3 separate regions of the Homo sapiens genome follow, and all the other regions are linked to region 1. The links are contacts of gene promoters, found by promoter capture Hi-C in blood cells and fetal thymus (Javierre and others, 2016). All regions are on one chromosome and are shown on one strand. The core of a region is centred on a gene start or on the middle of the fragment in contact, and the rest is flanking DNA. Distances in the headings are between cores, read along the strand shown.

Region 1 (4,381 bases), core at 847-3,346:
TCTGAGTCAGACCGTTCAAGTTCAAATCTTGGCTTCATCACTTTTTGTGTGATCTTATGATCTACCTCTCAGTGCCTCTGTTTACTTATCTGAAAATGATGACATTAGTAAGATCTAACCCACAGGACTACTGCGAGGATTAAATGACACAATGTAAATAACATACTTAGCAGGTGCCAGGCACACAGGGAGTGTTCAGTAAGCATTAGCTATTATTATGAATACTATCATTGCTACTAAGTCTATAGGGTCTATGTTGCCCCAAGTGCACCAGCTATAGGCTTCTTGGGCCAGAGTGACTGGTGCAAGATTAACTCGTTTGTCCTCTGCTAAGCCAGGCACGTTTCTGCCCAGCAGCATCCACTTCTCAGTCTTCTATTTGTTCGATTGGAGCCCTGCAGAGTGCTGTGTATGTTTGTAAGGGTCTCGCTTAGAGGAGAGCAGAACTCCAGCTCTGCAGATGCTGGAAAGTCTTGCTGCTGGAAACTGGAAGTGCCTTCAGGTGGGTGCCCTACCTCAAGAAGGGAAGAAGGCAGGAGTCATGCAAGTGAGGCCCAGGCTGGGCCGTGCACACTCCCTGCATGCAGGACCCACTGGGAGAAACACCTGCTTGTCCCGTTATCACTTCCCTTTTTGAGCTGCATCTGAAGCTTTGGTCCCTCCAGAAGTACATGGGTTAAAACAGTGGCAGGAAAACCCAAAGAGTTACACTCACTTTATTAATCCAGATGAGCCCCGGGATTTGGTTGGAATTAATCTGCATCTCTAGCCAGGGTCTCATGCGCATCCGAGTGATGGGCATGTTGGCTGTAAAGAGAACACAGAGGCTCCAGTCTGGAATCTGTTGAACAGTACCTGGGCAGTGACCTGCCCCACCCGAGGTCACTTAGTTACCCTCCCCTCACCTCAGCCAGCTGCTAGGTACTACACTCAGTGCGGAGGGGAGCTGCGCTGGAATAAAACTGCTCTCCAAATTTTTTCAGCATCTTAGGCAAAAATGCTTTTGCCCCTTCCTTCAGCCCCTCCCAGCCAGTCTCTGGAGGAGACAGGCATGCAAGTGATGGCTTCAGGATTCATATGCAGGAAAAGAGACAAAATGCACAGATACCCTAATTTCAGAACTTTTCGCTCAAAATTCAAATCCTTTGGGAAGGGAGGGACTTCTTTTGCTTGATGCCAAGAAGAAATTCCCTTGACTTGAGTTGTAACCACTAGCTAGCAAAGGGCTAGCCGTCACCCTGAACAGCCCCCTCCCGCCCCCCTGAATCCATTCTACGCCTTCCTGACAGCCACAGCGCCCACAACGCTAAGACCAGGACGCTAACCCTTCCGGCCCGGTTTCCCCTCCTCTGGAGAAGTGGCCCAAGGAACACCTGTGGCGCCTCTTCCCGCAGTCTCCGTAGGTCACGATTCCCTCCAGCCACCTGGGCAGTAAGCCAGCCCTTGCCACCAGCACAGGGAGCCCAAAACCTGTCGCCTGGGCGCGGAGCTGGGACCGCCGAAAGCCGGGAGCACTGGGCGCCCACGCGTGGGCTGACACTCGGTCCCCGGCACGGCGTGTGGATGCGCGGGACGAACATAGCGGGCCACCTACAGGCCCCTGGCGGCTGCGCGCACGCAGATCTGCGAAAGCTGCCGGGCGCCGGCAGCCTCGTCCGGGTGGGCGGTCCACGCCGCGTCCCGCCCTCCCCGCGCCGCGGCCCGCGGCTCGCAGCTCCTCCGGCGCCCCCCGGAGCCCGCGCGGAGGCCCGGGCAACGCCGCGCGCCGGCGAGTCTCCAGCCTGGAGCTTTCGACCCCCCACTTCCTGGTGCCCCGCGCGCCTTTTATTCGACGCCGCCGGTGCCCCGCGCCTCAAAGGCGTACTCACCTCTGCTGCAGGAGCGATTCGGCGGTCGCGCGCGAGGGTCCCGGCGACGCAGGGGCTGCAGTGAGGGCGCGCGGAGCGCGACTCCGAGTGGAAGAGGGAAGAAGGCAGAGGTTGCCGGGTTCTTAAGGCCGCCGGGCACGGCCGGCGTGGACTGGGCACGGCTCCGGGTGGCCTCGGTTCGGCGGGGCTCGGGCGCACGTCTTGCCTCGACTAAGGAGTGGCGAGCTCTGCCAGGGCAGCGGCGCCACCGAGCAATCCAAACACTTAGCGGGATTCCCCAGCCCTGGCCGGCCCCGCCCCCGGACAGCCGCGCGGGCGCCCATTGGCCGGCTGCGTGCCGTCATTTCGGGGAAATCAGGCTGTTGTAGAGCTAGCGGCGAAGGGGAAGTACAGGGCGGCTGCTCCGCCCCACCCTCTCCGGCCGGGCGCCACCGCCCCGGGGCCACCGCGGGCCCGCCCCGAGCGCTCCCAATCCACCCCTGCTCCGGCTTGCCCGGAGGAGGGCTGCCCGGGACAGCCCAGCGCCCCTGGCCCCAGCCTGTCCTCTCACTCCGCCTTGTCCCAGCCGGCTGGCTCCTGGGGCCATCTTTTCACCCTCCTGGCGGGGCGGGGGCGGGGGTATATCTCCCGAACGCAGGTGAGGGGATCGCCCGGGCACTTGCCGCCCTCTCCAGTGGGAACACTGGGCCGAATCTCCCGACTGGCAGCCTGGCTCCTCAAGCTTGCCAGTGGGATATCAAGAAGGGAGGGTTTCAGTCCTAGCACTACCCCTGTTTTTAGGGGTGACCCCCTCCCTCCAGGTCACTCACCTGCCCTGGGGAAGTGAAGAAGGCAGAAAGCCTACCCTGCCCCGTGTGCTGTCTGGGGCTGCTGGACCAGGGGAAATCCCAACTTGGCCGCTGCTGGCACAGCCCCCAAGGGACGCAGGACCTCTGTTTTTCAACCATAAAATAATAGTAGCCCTACCTTGATGGTTTGCTGTGATGGGAAGAGATTGTAAAGCACTATGCTCCACTCGGGCAACAGACGCTGAGTAGTTTTCAAGGTCGCCGTTGCAGGGTCTAATAGTGACCAGGATGACACCCCACCCCTTTTCGGTCTGCCTCCCTGGGACTCCCCCTGGCTGGCTTTAGGGAACAGAGGAGGAGAAGGGGTTCAGAGAAGCCCAGACGGCTGAGTGAGGGTAGGGGTGGGCTAGCTCTGATCCCTCCTAGCACTCTTGCCTCAGGCCGCCTCCAGAGCCTCCCTGTGGCCCGCGTATGGGAGTTCCGCAATGGAAGCATTGCTGTCATCTCTGAGTCCCCAGGGCTTGGCCCAGAGAGGTTCTGGGCAGCATGGAGGAATTAGCTCAGGGCTGATCAACGCCATGGGGCTAGCCAAAGGGTTGGGGAGCCCAGGTCCCATGCTCCTTGGTAAGGCCCCTACTTAACTCTCGCGCACAACTAGTCCCCGCCCCACGTATAGTCCTAGAGACTTGACTGGGTGTTCATTTTCCATCCAAAACTCTGGCCCAGGAGGCTTCTTCCTTCATCTCCCTAAAGCTCCTGCAGAAGTAAGTTACTCTCCCAGGCGTGTCATTTCCTTCACCCCAGCTCTCCCTCCAGGGCAGCACCCCATTTTGCAGGCTATAAATAGACACACCCATGCAACATTCGACTTGCCAGTCACTCTACCTCCCTCCCGTAGAGGAAATGCATGGGTTAATCCCATTCTGGCGCATTGCAATCTGAGTGCTGTGACCAATGCCAAACCTGGTTCCCAGGATACCAGCAGGAATGGGCAAAACTGTCTACCAGATAGAGGTGGGTCAGGAGCTAGGAGAGGAAAGGAGGTAGGAGAAACTGAGGAAGGAACCTAACTGAGTGTTAAGCAAAGTGGAGGGCAATGACACTCTGGAATGGAAAGGTGGGTTTTGGGGTACTTTAAGTGACAAATGGAAGTGGGGACTTGCTACAGGGACCAAGACCTTCTGAGCAAGAATAAGAGAAAACAAGTGACCCCTGAGTCGTGGGATCCTTTCTTGGTACAGCAAATAGATGCTTGTCCTTCCCCTGAGAACCTGACACATCCACTGGAAAATTCAGGATGAGATTAGGGAAAGGAAGTTTGCATCTTTGTGGTCTGATAAGTTGACCACAGTGACCCTGTGAAGGCAACAGGACACTATAAAAAATGCTTTAAAACAAAAACTTAATTTTAATTCACAGATACAGGTATAAATATACCCGTATATGCATATGTATATTTAGCCATAATGAGCATCTTTCCATGTCATGAAATGTACTTATGCAATGTCATTTGTAATAGGTATACATTATTCTTTCACAAGGATAAATAAAAATTTACCCAATTAATCCCCTATTGTAGGACAGTTAGGTTATTTCCATTTTTTCGTAATACAAACAACACTATTAGCTAAATCTTTGTGCATATCAATAATTTTTTGCTTAGGAGAAATTCCCCAGTTAGGATTTACCAATGAAACTGTCATTTACATTTACATCTTTGACCTT
Region 2 (4,551 bases), core at 2,052-4,551, 330 kb after region 1:
AAATTAATCCCAACCAACAAACTTAAAAGTTTATCTACCTCGTTTTAGGCAATCAAGATTCTGGAGAGTCTTGAACACAGAATAACGATTGTGACCATTATGAATGTAACTAATTTCAGTTGTACTGTGAATGCTAAATATTTGCAAACAAGTACATCTTGAAAGTAAAGGTGACTTAGAGAAAAGAGACATTTTGACAGATACTTTTAATTTGTGGTTGTCTCCATCATGAAATAGAAACGTGTTTGGCACTTGTGGGTGGCTATTTTGATTTGGCATGACTACTTAATTTTTTAAAAAAATTGTGGTTTGTGAATTGCACCTTTGTGCCATGTTTCTGAATCTGGTTTTCAAATCCAGTGGAGCCTTTCAGTGAAATAGGTGACTATTAAAAAAGTAATAGTATTACAGAAAAATGAGCGATTAAATAGTAATGGATACAATTAAGGAGCAACTATTTTATATGACTGTTCTGTACAAACAAAAAGTATGTAATACCCATTTTAAAAAACCATTTGAAAGTAGACAACTTATTCCAAAATAGCAAATGCAGAATCTCTGCTCAGTGAGCTTGGATGAGTGGCTTAACTTCTCTGGGCCTTTGTTCCTATCTGTAAATGAGAAAGTTTGTAGATATTGCCAAGATTTCCCAGGCTCAATACAGTGTAATTATTTTATGTTTTAAAGATATGAAATCTGTTTACTCAACCAATTTTTTAAATGTCATATTGTGATAATGCTCTGCTTTTGCAAATTGTGTTTGCATGTCATTAGTTATATCAAATAGTTTTGTGGCATGGGGTAGTGGAGCTTCCCTCCCCACCCCCATATGTATCAGTGAAGCCTTTGAAATTACTTAAGGCAGTCTTTCATGGAATGTTTTGATTGAGCAATGAAATAAACAGTCCTCCATTTTGTTTCTGCTTGAGTGGTGATGTACTTCCCTTAAAAATTGTACAGTTTTTGCTATTGTATTTTTCTTTTCTTTTTATCTAATTTCCTTCATTCTTCTGCCTCTTTCAAGCATTCTGTTATTGAAAGAAGTTGGATTGCTCTGCAAAGTAAAGGAGTCAACCACACATGGATATCGTAATGGAGAACTGTAGATAAATGTGGGCCCTGATGTGACCTTCCCACCTTCCTTGCCTGGAACTCTGCATAAATTATTTTAAAATGCAAATTAAATCTTCTGCCTCTGCTGAAAAATTGTAGGAGACACAATTATAGCAATTGGAGTAGCTGACAGTCTAGAAAACAGAATAAAATACTAGAGATTTTCCATGGTAAAAGAGACACCTGACTCAGACAGGGCCTCAGACAAAGGTCACAGACACAGGTATGACCTGCCTTGATAAAGACAACGTTTAAACCAGCAAAGTAGTAATAACAATAACTAATGTTTATTGCACACTTAAATCAGAGGAGGGTCATTTGAACTGCCAGAAGAATCTATGTGTTTCAGAAGAGTGTGCTGCAAGCCTTCCAAGTGAAGTAAAACATTTAGCAAGAGTTTAGGATCAATATACCTAAAGCTCAGGTGTTAGAAAACACTGCTTTTCCTTGCAGGCCAAAGCTTTCTGCAACTATAAGGTAAGCCGATAAGAAATTATAGTTTCATACGCATAGGGAAAGTTTTTAAGAATCATATATCACCTAGCAGGAGGCACACCGTTAGAAGGGTATTTTCAACACTAACAGAAAATAATTGTGAAGGCAATTTAGCTGACAAGAATTGTCACAGGGACGAAATCACGCCTTTTAATGAGGGAGAATTGTTGATGTAGATGGGTATGAGTCGTATCCATAGCAAGCTTTTAAGTAAAGTTTTACATATCCTTTAATGGAGGTTGGAGGTTATTCTTAAGCATGTCTCCCTTACCTAATGGAGATCCAGGGTAATGCATATACTGTATAACCTGTGCTGATTAAGTGCCAGGCACAATTCGAAACACTTTGCAGGTATTAATCGCAAGTTTATAAGGTATGTACTATTTGTATCTTGATTTTAAAGTGAGGAAACTGAAGCCTAGAGAAGTCATAAGTTACTTGTCTAGGCCTCACAGCTAGTAAATGCAGAGCTGGAATAGTCTCCTGGTTCTCTTTTTCATGACACTGTCTGCTATCCTATTGCAGGAAGCAGGGTGGGCTCATCTCAGCCCTTTTTACTCATTTAGTGTCTTTGGGCAAGTCACCCAGCTCCCCAAACTCCATCTTCCCTGTCTACGGGACAAAAGGCTTCCTGTACCTATTTCACAGGCTGTGGGGGAAGGAAGAGCACGTAGAATGAGTGGATAGAGCTCTTTATGAACTGCAACACCAATGTGGGGTGCCGAGTTGGTTCCAGGGGGTAAATGGCTGCATCCCAAAACCAAATAGCTCTGATTTGTGGATCTGCTTTACATGATCATTCTTTCTTTTTTTTTTTTTCTTTTTTGAGATGGAGTCTCGCTCTGTCACCCAGGCTGGAGTGCAGTAGTGCAATCTCAGTTCACTGCAACCTCTGCCTCCCGGCTTCAAGCGATTCTCCTGCCTCAGCCTCCCAAGTAGCTGAGATCACGGGCACGTGCCACCATGCCTGGCTAATTTTTTGAATTTTTAGTAGAGATGGGGTTTCACCATGTTGGTCAGGCTGGTCTCAAACTCCTGATCTTAGGTGATCTGCCTGCTTTGGCCTCCCAAAGTGCTGCGATTACAGGTGTGAGCCACCGTGCCCTGCCATGATCACCATTCTTTTAACATGTTGGTGATTGTATACATAAGTAACAATCGACTCTACTAGGAAAAATGTATTCCCACAAGAGGGAAATTATCCCATATTCTGTACATGATATCACTTTAGTTAAAATAGAAATAATGTCTTTCTAAACTCACATTCCTCTAGCATTCCTACTCCTACCTTCCAGACCTAACCACTGCTATTCAGCCACCTGAGCTGGAGTGCAATGGTGGGATGTCGGCTCACTGCAACCTCCGCCTCCCTGGTTCAAGCGATTCTCGCTTGAAACGATTTCCGTGCCTCAGCTTCTCGAGCAGCTGGGATTACAGGCGTGCACCACCACGCCTGGCTAATCTTTTGTTAGAGACGGGGGTTTCACCATGTTGGCCAGGCTGGTCTCGAACTCCTGAGCTCAGAACTCCTGAGCTCAGGCAATTAGCCCGCCTCGGCCCCCCAAACTGCTGTGATTACAGGCGACAGTCAGCCTGTATTTATAGGCGCCTGGCCTATACTTAGATTCTCTTTTGCTCTCCAGATAGCCTTTTGCCTTGAACCCGCCTCACCTGTTTGGAACTGCCACACCTCCAGACTTCAACCTGGGGCCGGGGTGCCTCAGGTGTGCCTGCAGGGAAGAAAAAAGAAAGCAGAGACATCGAGATCTAGATTCTCTCCTCAAAGAAAAAAAAATCCTCCTCGTGGGAAGTGGGTGCTGATTTAAACATCAAAGACAACAGGTAAACGTCCATTGTGACCTTCCACGCTGTAGCTAGGCTGACAGCAACACTATGGGGTCCTCAGCAATTGCCGCCTCCCGCCTTCCTGCGCCCCCAAATGCCCCTTTCACCTGTTTCTCTCTGCAGCCCTCAAACACATTTGACCTAAATTTCCTGAGCTCCTGGTTTACATGTGAATGCACAGCACGGCAATTTGTTCCAATGAGGAGCCCTGAGGTTTGCGCCAGCCGCTCTCAGGGGTAAGTTTTGTGCCGAGCAGGATGTTCAAGACAGACTGCGCGCCGGTTTCGGGCACCGCCGAACATGGCTTCCCTGTTCCGTTTCTAATTTACAGCCTGAAGGTAAAAAGTACACTGATTAAATCCATGTTAGGAGGAGCAGCGGGGGCGGAATAAGCGAGCTGGGGAGGCGGCCGCGGGGCTGCCTGTTGCCCAGCAACGATGCCAGCCGCGGCCTGTGCTCCCCCAAAAGCCCGAAAGCACCGCGGCAGGCAGCCAGGAAGGAGGATGGGGCAGGGGTGCCGGCGGCTAAAGGAGATGGGGGCGCAGAAACCCCTATAGGGACCCATGCAACCCGCTTTCTCACCCTGGGAGACTACGCAAGGCTTTTTTGTTTTTTTTTTTTTGTTTTTTTGATACTTATGTTCGAAATCAAAAAGTGCACTGATCGAATCCGTATTAGGAGGATATGATTTAATCAGTGTACCGTTTAAATCCCCCCACACCCCTCCCCCCGACTGCCCTCTCTCCCACTTCTCATTGGCCAGCAACTTTCCAACAAAGGCCCAGTGGCAAAGACAGCCAGCCTTTCCCTGCCTGGCTGGTCAGTTTCTTTCTGAAAGAAGCAAAAGGCTCAGCTCCAGCTTTCGGGCCTAACTGCTCAGCAGGGCAAGTCAAAGTCCCTGTGGCTGGCCCAGAGGGCCTGGTAAGCTGGAGAAGCTGCGAATGGCGAAGCGTAGGTACCAGCTTTCACCATTAGGACAGCGCCCTCTGCTGGCAGTATCCTGAAGGGTCAGTTCACCGGGCTTCTGGTCCCCACAAAGTCTTGAAGTCTGAGGTGCTGATAACGGAACAAATGTGGTGAGCTCATTCTTGCCCTCTG
Region 3 (4,817 bases), core at 2,227-4,726, 380 kb after region 1:
CTATGGCGAGTGCTGGTTCTTGGCCCTCTGCTCCCATAGCAACAATAAAGTCTACTAACTATATTGTAATTAGTATGTGTCAGGGACGCTTTTATTTTTTATTTTTTGAGATGGAGTCTTGCTCTCTCACCCAGGCTGGAGTGCAGTGGTGTGATCTCGGCTCACTGCCATCTGTGCCTCCTGGGTTCAAACGATTCTCCTGTCTCAGCCTCCGAGTAGCTGGGATTACAGGTGCAGGACACCACACCTGGCTAATTTTTTGTATTTTTAGTAGAGACAGGTTTCACCATGTTGGCCAGGCTGGTCTGGAACTCCTGACCTCAGATGATCTGTGCGCCTCAGCCTCCCAAAGTGCTGGGATTACAGGCGTAAGCCATGGTGCTCTGGGCCTCAAATACTCTTCTTAGCTACACAAATGAACTGTTAAACCTCACAAGCACCTTTAACGTATCCTCATTTGGCAGATGAGGAAATGGGCACAGAGAGATTAAGTAATTTGCCAGAAATTATACAGCAGTGAATGGTGGAGTCTTGCACTAAAGTGATGCTCTTAAAACTATGCTCTATTGCAGGGGTGTCCAATCTTTTAGCTTCCCTGGGCCACACATAAAATACGCTAACATTACAATAGCTGATAAGCTTTAAAAAATGGCAAAAAAAACCCTCAGCGTTTTAGAAAGTTTACAAATTTTTGTTGGGTCGGATTCAAAGCCATCCTGGGCTGCTTGCTGCCCAGGACTGCGGTTGGACAAGCTTGCTCTACTGCCTTTCCTCCTAAGGCAGGCCTTAGCCTGAGGGGATATCAGCTATAAAACGGATGAGGTGATCTCTTAGCCTCCACAGCAGTTTTCTGTTTCTGTGCCAGGAGGCCAACAATGTTTTCAACCATATGTGGTTCATAAAGCCTCAAAGATTTACTCTGGCCCTTTATGAATAAAGTTTACCCCTGATCTAAAGCCTTTAAATTATCTTTTTGGTATTAAAGATACCATTTTCCCTTCGCCCACCGAGAGATGGTGGGGGTAGGTGTGGTTGGCAGTTTTATGCCTCTAGTTCCTTAGAGAGGCTTCTCTCTAAGCTTCGGGACATGGATCTCACCTGTGGTAGCAGGTATGTGGAATATGATGAGTTGTCATAGCTCAGTCAGTACAGTATATGCTATGGGATCTGAGATCCGTTTTTAGAAACTCTTCTAAGGACTCTTCCTGCTAGCAGCAACTTTGATTCTGGGTCAGACTGTGTTTTTTTTTTTTTTTTTTTGAGATGGGAGTCTTGCTCTGTCACCAGGCTGGAGTTTAGTGGCGCAATCTCAGCTTACTGCAACCTCCGCTTCCCGGGCTCAAGTGATTCTCCTGCCTCAGCCTCCCAAATAGCTGGGACTACAGGCGCATACCAACACACCCAGCTAATTTTTGTATTTTTATTTTTTTTTTTAGTAGAGACGGAGTTTCACCATGTTGGCCAGGATGGTCTTGATCTCTTGACCTCGTGATCCACCTGCCTCGACCTCCCAAAGTGCTGGGATTACAGGTGTGAGCCACCGTGCCTGGCCAGACTGTATCTTTATTATCCTAATTACTGCTATTGCCTTTTAAGAATCAAAAGTTAAGATACTTCAAAACATGGCCGGATACAGTGGCTCACACCTGTAATCCCAGCACTTTGGGAGGCTGAAGTGGATGGATCACTTGAGGTCAGGAGTTTGAGACCAGCCTGGCCAACATGGTGAAACCCTGTCTCTACTAAAAATATAAAAATTAGCTGAGTGTGGTGGCACACGCCTATAATCCCAGCTACTCAGGAGGCTGAGGCAGAAACGCTTGAACCTGGGAGGTGGAGGTTGCAGTGAGCCAAGATTGTGCCACTGCACTCCAGCCTGGGTGACAGAGCGAGACTTCAAAACAAAACCTAAAAGATAAACTACATTGTGAGGCAGGATACGGGGAAAAGGCTGAGTCTTACAGTCTTGGGCTCGTCCTCTTAGCCCGTCACTTCCTCATTATGTGATATAGGCAAGAAACCTACTTTCATGAGCCTTAAGCTTCTCACCCATAAAATAGAAATATTATAAAGTTCTTGGGTTGTGGTGATGGTGAAATGAGTGACAAGTGTCTGGCAAGATGGTACGGGCTTAACACAGGGCAACTAACTGAGGAACTCTTCTACCTCACCCCCAAAAGACAGTCCAATTTTCCCATTTGCCTCTTTGTCCAGATTTATTCCCAGGTCTTGCAACATATTTGGGTCATAGACTTGAGAATGATGAAAACTGTGGACCCATCCTTACCTTGCATAGCTTCAAAGAGTTCACAGCCCAGAGGAGGACCACTGCTTTGAGAGGCCGTTAATGTCTTTCTCCCTCTGGTGTTTGCCCCAACCCGCCGAAGTAGACGGCCACCCTCTCCCATCTTGCTCACCTTGTTCTACACTTAGACTATTTCTCCCTGGTTCTTTGACTCCTTTGGAGAGACCAGCTCAAAAGATCCAAATCCCTTTTCTCAGCCCAAACCAGGCACCAAGCCTATTCTTTTTATTCCAGGAGTGCTCTACTGAGATGACTCTGCCGTAAGCCCTGTGATGTGTGGAGCTTCTGCTTTGGATGAAATTAGTCTGCTTTAAGCCTGTGTCTCATCAAAGGGCTTCCCTCTCTAAGCTTGGGGAAATGGATCTCACCTGTGTGGCAGGAGTGCTGAGGTGGTGGGTGTGTGGAATGTGGTGAGTTTTAGTAGTTCAGTGCTCCTATACATGACCTGGGATCATTTTAGGGGACATTTGCAGAAATCCTCAGAGGAGAACCTGAGTAAAACCTTTGAAGGAAAGACAGCTGCTGTGGGCTTCAGTGCTGGTAACCCATCTGGAGCCTCCAGTCCTGGGTATGGATCCCTTACCTGCTACTCTGGCACAACCATTTGCTCCATTTGACCTTTCTTTTTCCAAATGCTCCTGCCCCCACAAGCGTTTTTATCTATGGGCTGCAGAGTCTGATGAAAGGAATGCCCTTGCTCTTTTAGTTTGCAGGCAGTCCTCAAAATGCAGGCCTAAGGTAGGCCCAAAAGTCTATGCCAGTTCCAGCTAGCAAAAAAGCAAATACACCTTGACCTTTTGTTGAAATTTTACCTGGTAAAGTTTTTCCATTTCAGAGTCTTTCATCTTTTATTAGGCACCTCCTGCTTAGGGACAGCAAAAAGTTTCCAATTACTGCCAACTCCTAGTGATCGACCTGGAATGTGTTTCAAACAGCTGCTCATGTAGCTATACCCTCTTTCTCCCATTTCATCCTAAGCATTTGCCTCAGAAGCATAAAATCTCTTGAGAGTTGTATCCAGAGTTACCAAGCTCTCAGCTATCAAATCTGCTTCAGTCTCATTTTCTTCTTGTAAATTAGTCATTTGAACCCCCAAACTGACAGAATAGGAGACTAAAGCCCAAAAAGGGGAAGGGCTGGCCTATGGGCAGTTGCACTCTGTAGACCCCAGGCTACTGCTTACCAGCCAAGCATTCTACCTTCTTACGGCTGCAACTGTTAAAGGCTACTTAGGCCTTTCTATTGGATGAAGGAGCATGCAGTTACGTGTATATTCACTGAGCAAAATACTTGATTGTAGAATCCATGAAATTTTTTTTTTTTTAATTTCAAGAAGAGGCCTTCACAGTCTCTCAAGTATGGGATGGCTGTGGACAAATACTGCCAATTCAGCTAACTGCTGCCTGGATGTTGCTTTGAGTTTGATTTTTGCTCCATACTTAACTAAAACAACTAGCATTCACGTAGACATGTTAAAATACTTTCCCCTTCCCCAACAGTGGTTCCTTCCACAGACAGTGACTAATGGTTTTTTCTTTTGGGGAGAGGGTGGCATACAACATAGAGGCTTGAACCAAAGGCCTCTGCAATGTTGTCACACTCATGAGGATGAATGGTCCTTTCCGCCTACACACAGAGGGGCAAGGGCTTCAAGCTCTTTCTTTCCTTGACTGTGTTATCAGCTTTACAAATTAACACCATGCTAGTTTGATCCTGCTAGAAGTACAGGAAGGCAGAAATGGAGGATTAGGAGAATTACTCATCTTTTGGATGAACAGTTTCCAAATCCCATTTGGCACATCACTCTAGACTGGTAAAGGGGAGGCTGACACTGAGGCCACAGACCCAACTGGCTCTAGGACATCACGTTGTTCAGTCCTTTGCTTATCTAATCATTTGTGTTCTTACCCAGTGCTCACTAGGTCACCCACATAGCCACTTCCCCTCCCAGCAAAAGTTCCCAGTTTAGGCACCTGTCTGGGATCATCCAGTATCCAAGCTTAGGGGTGAAGGGAGGGAGCAGAGAACTAGTCTCAACTGGTTCGTTGGTATATAGGTCTCTTCTCAATGTTCCTAAAGTGCATGCAGTGGCATCCCCCTCAAGGCCTGGCTCCATGATTCTGAGAGGACTAGAATCAGGACAGTCAGATCTGTGGTCACATCCTGCCCAATTCCAGCTCTGAGGTCCATCAAACCATCTGCTTCTCCCTTGGCAAGAAGCTCCCTCTGTCTGACTGGCAGCAGGGTCAGTGGCCATCCTTTTCTACCTTCAGCTGTTGTGCATCTCCTCCACGTTTTCCTGGAGTAAAGGAACAAGCAGGTTCTTATCCAAATACCCAACCTGTGAAGATGAGACGGCCCTTGGGAAGAGGTATTAGCCAAGTTTTCAGTATGATGCCCGGCAGAAAGAATTTGTTGTCTTTGTCTTAAGCTTATTATCCTCCCAGGTCATAGGAAGATCTAAAGTCCAATCAGTCTCCTTACTCAGAATTCACAGCTTTCCCCTCAAACT

What was found. The method cuts DNA at HindIII sites, captures the fragments that hold promoters and counts their contacts. A CHiCAGO score of 5 or more calls a contact.
Region 2: a contact is called between a fragment that was not itself captured here and the fragment with the promoter of IRF1 in region 1, in 5 of 17 cell types (fetal thymus, monocytes, total B cells and 2 more). The highest score is 8.6, in fetal thymus.
Region 3: a contact is called between a fragment that was not itself captured here and the fragment with the promoter of IRF1 in region 1, in 1 of 17 cell types (monocytes). The highest score is 5.5, in monocytes.

The regions. Positions count from the first base shown.
Region 1 is chr5:132,488,677-132,493,057 of GRCh38, forward strand. IRF1 (interferon regulatory factor 1) reads right to left here and starts at 2,097. Exons shown (of 10, transcript NM_002198.3): 1 at 1,869-2,097; 2 at 716-807. The coding sequence starts at 802. RefSeq lists silencers at 929-978, 1,509-1,788, 2,049-2,498 and enhancers at 970-1,617, 2,639-2,778, 2,912-3,557, 3,049-3,258, 3,299-3,348. The HindIII fragment of the contact is 1,939 bases long and covers 649-2,587 here.
Region 2 is chr5:132,815,870-132,820,420 of GRCh38, forward strand. It overlaps SOWAHA (sosondowah ankyrin repeat domain family member A), which reads left to right. Exons shown (of 1, transcript NM_175873.6): 1 at 1-917. Among named protein-coding and RNA genes, the nearest start is that of SOWAHA, 4.8 kb to the left of the region's middle. RefSeq lists a silencer at 4,419-4,498. The HindIII fragment of the contact is 2,985 bases long and covers 1,810-4,551 here.
Region 3 is chr5:132,867,892-132,872,708 of GRCh38, forward strand. It overlaps UQCRQ (ubiquinol-cytochrome c reductase complex III subunit VII), which reads left to right. Exons shown (of 3, transcript NM_014402.5): 3 at 1-956. Among named protein-coding and RNA genes, the nearest start is that of LEAP2, 3.4 kb to the right of the region's middle. The HindIII fragment of the contact is 1,651 bases long and covers 2,652-4,302 here.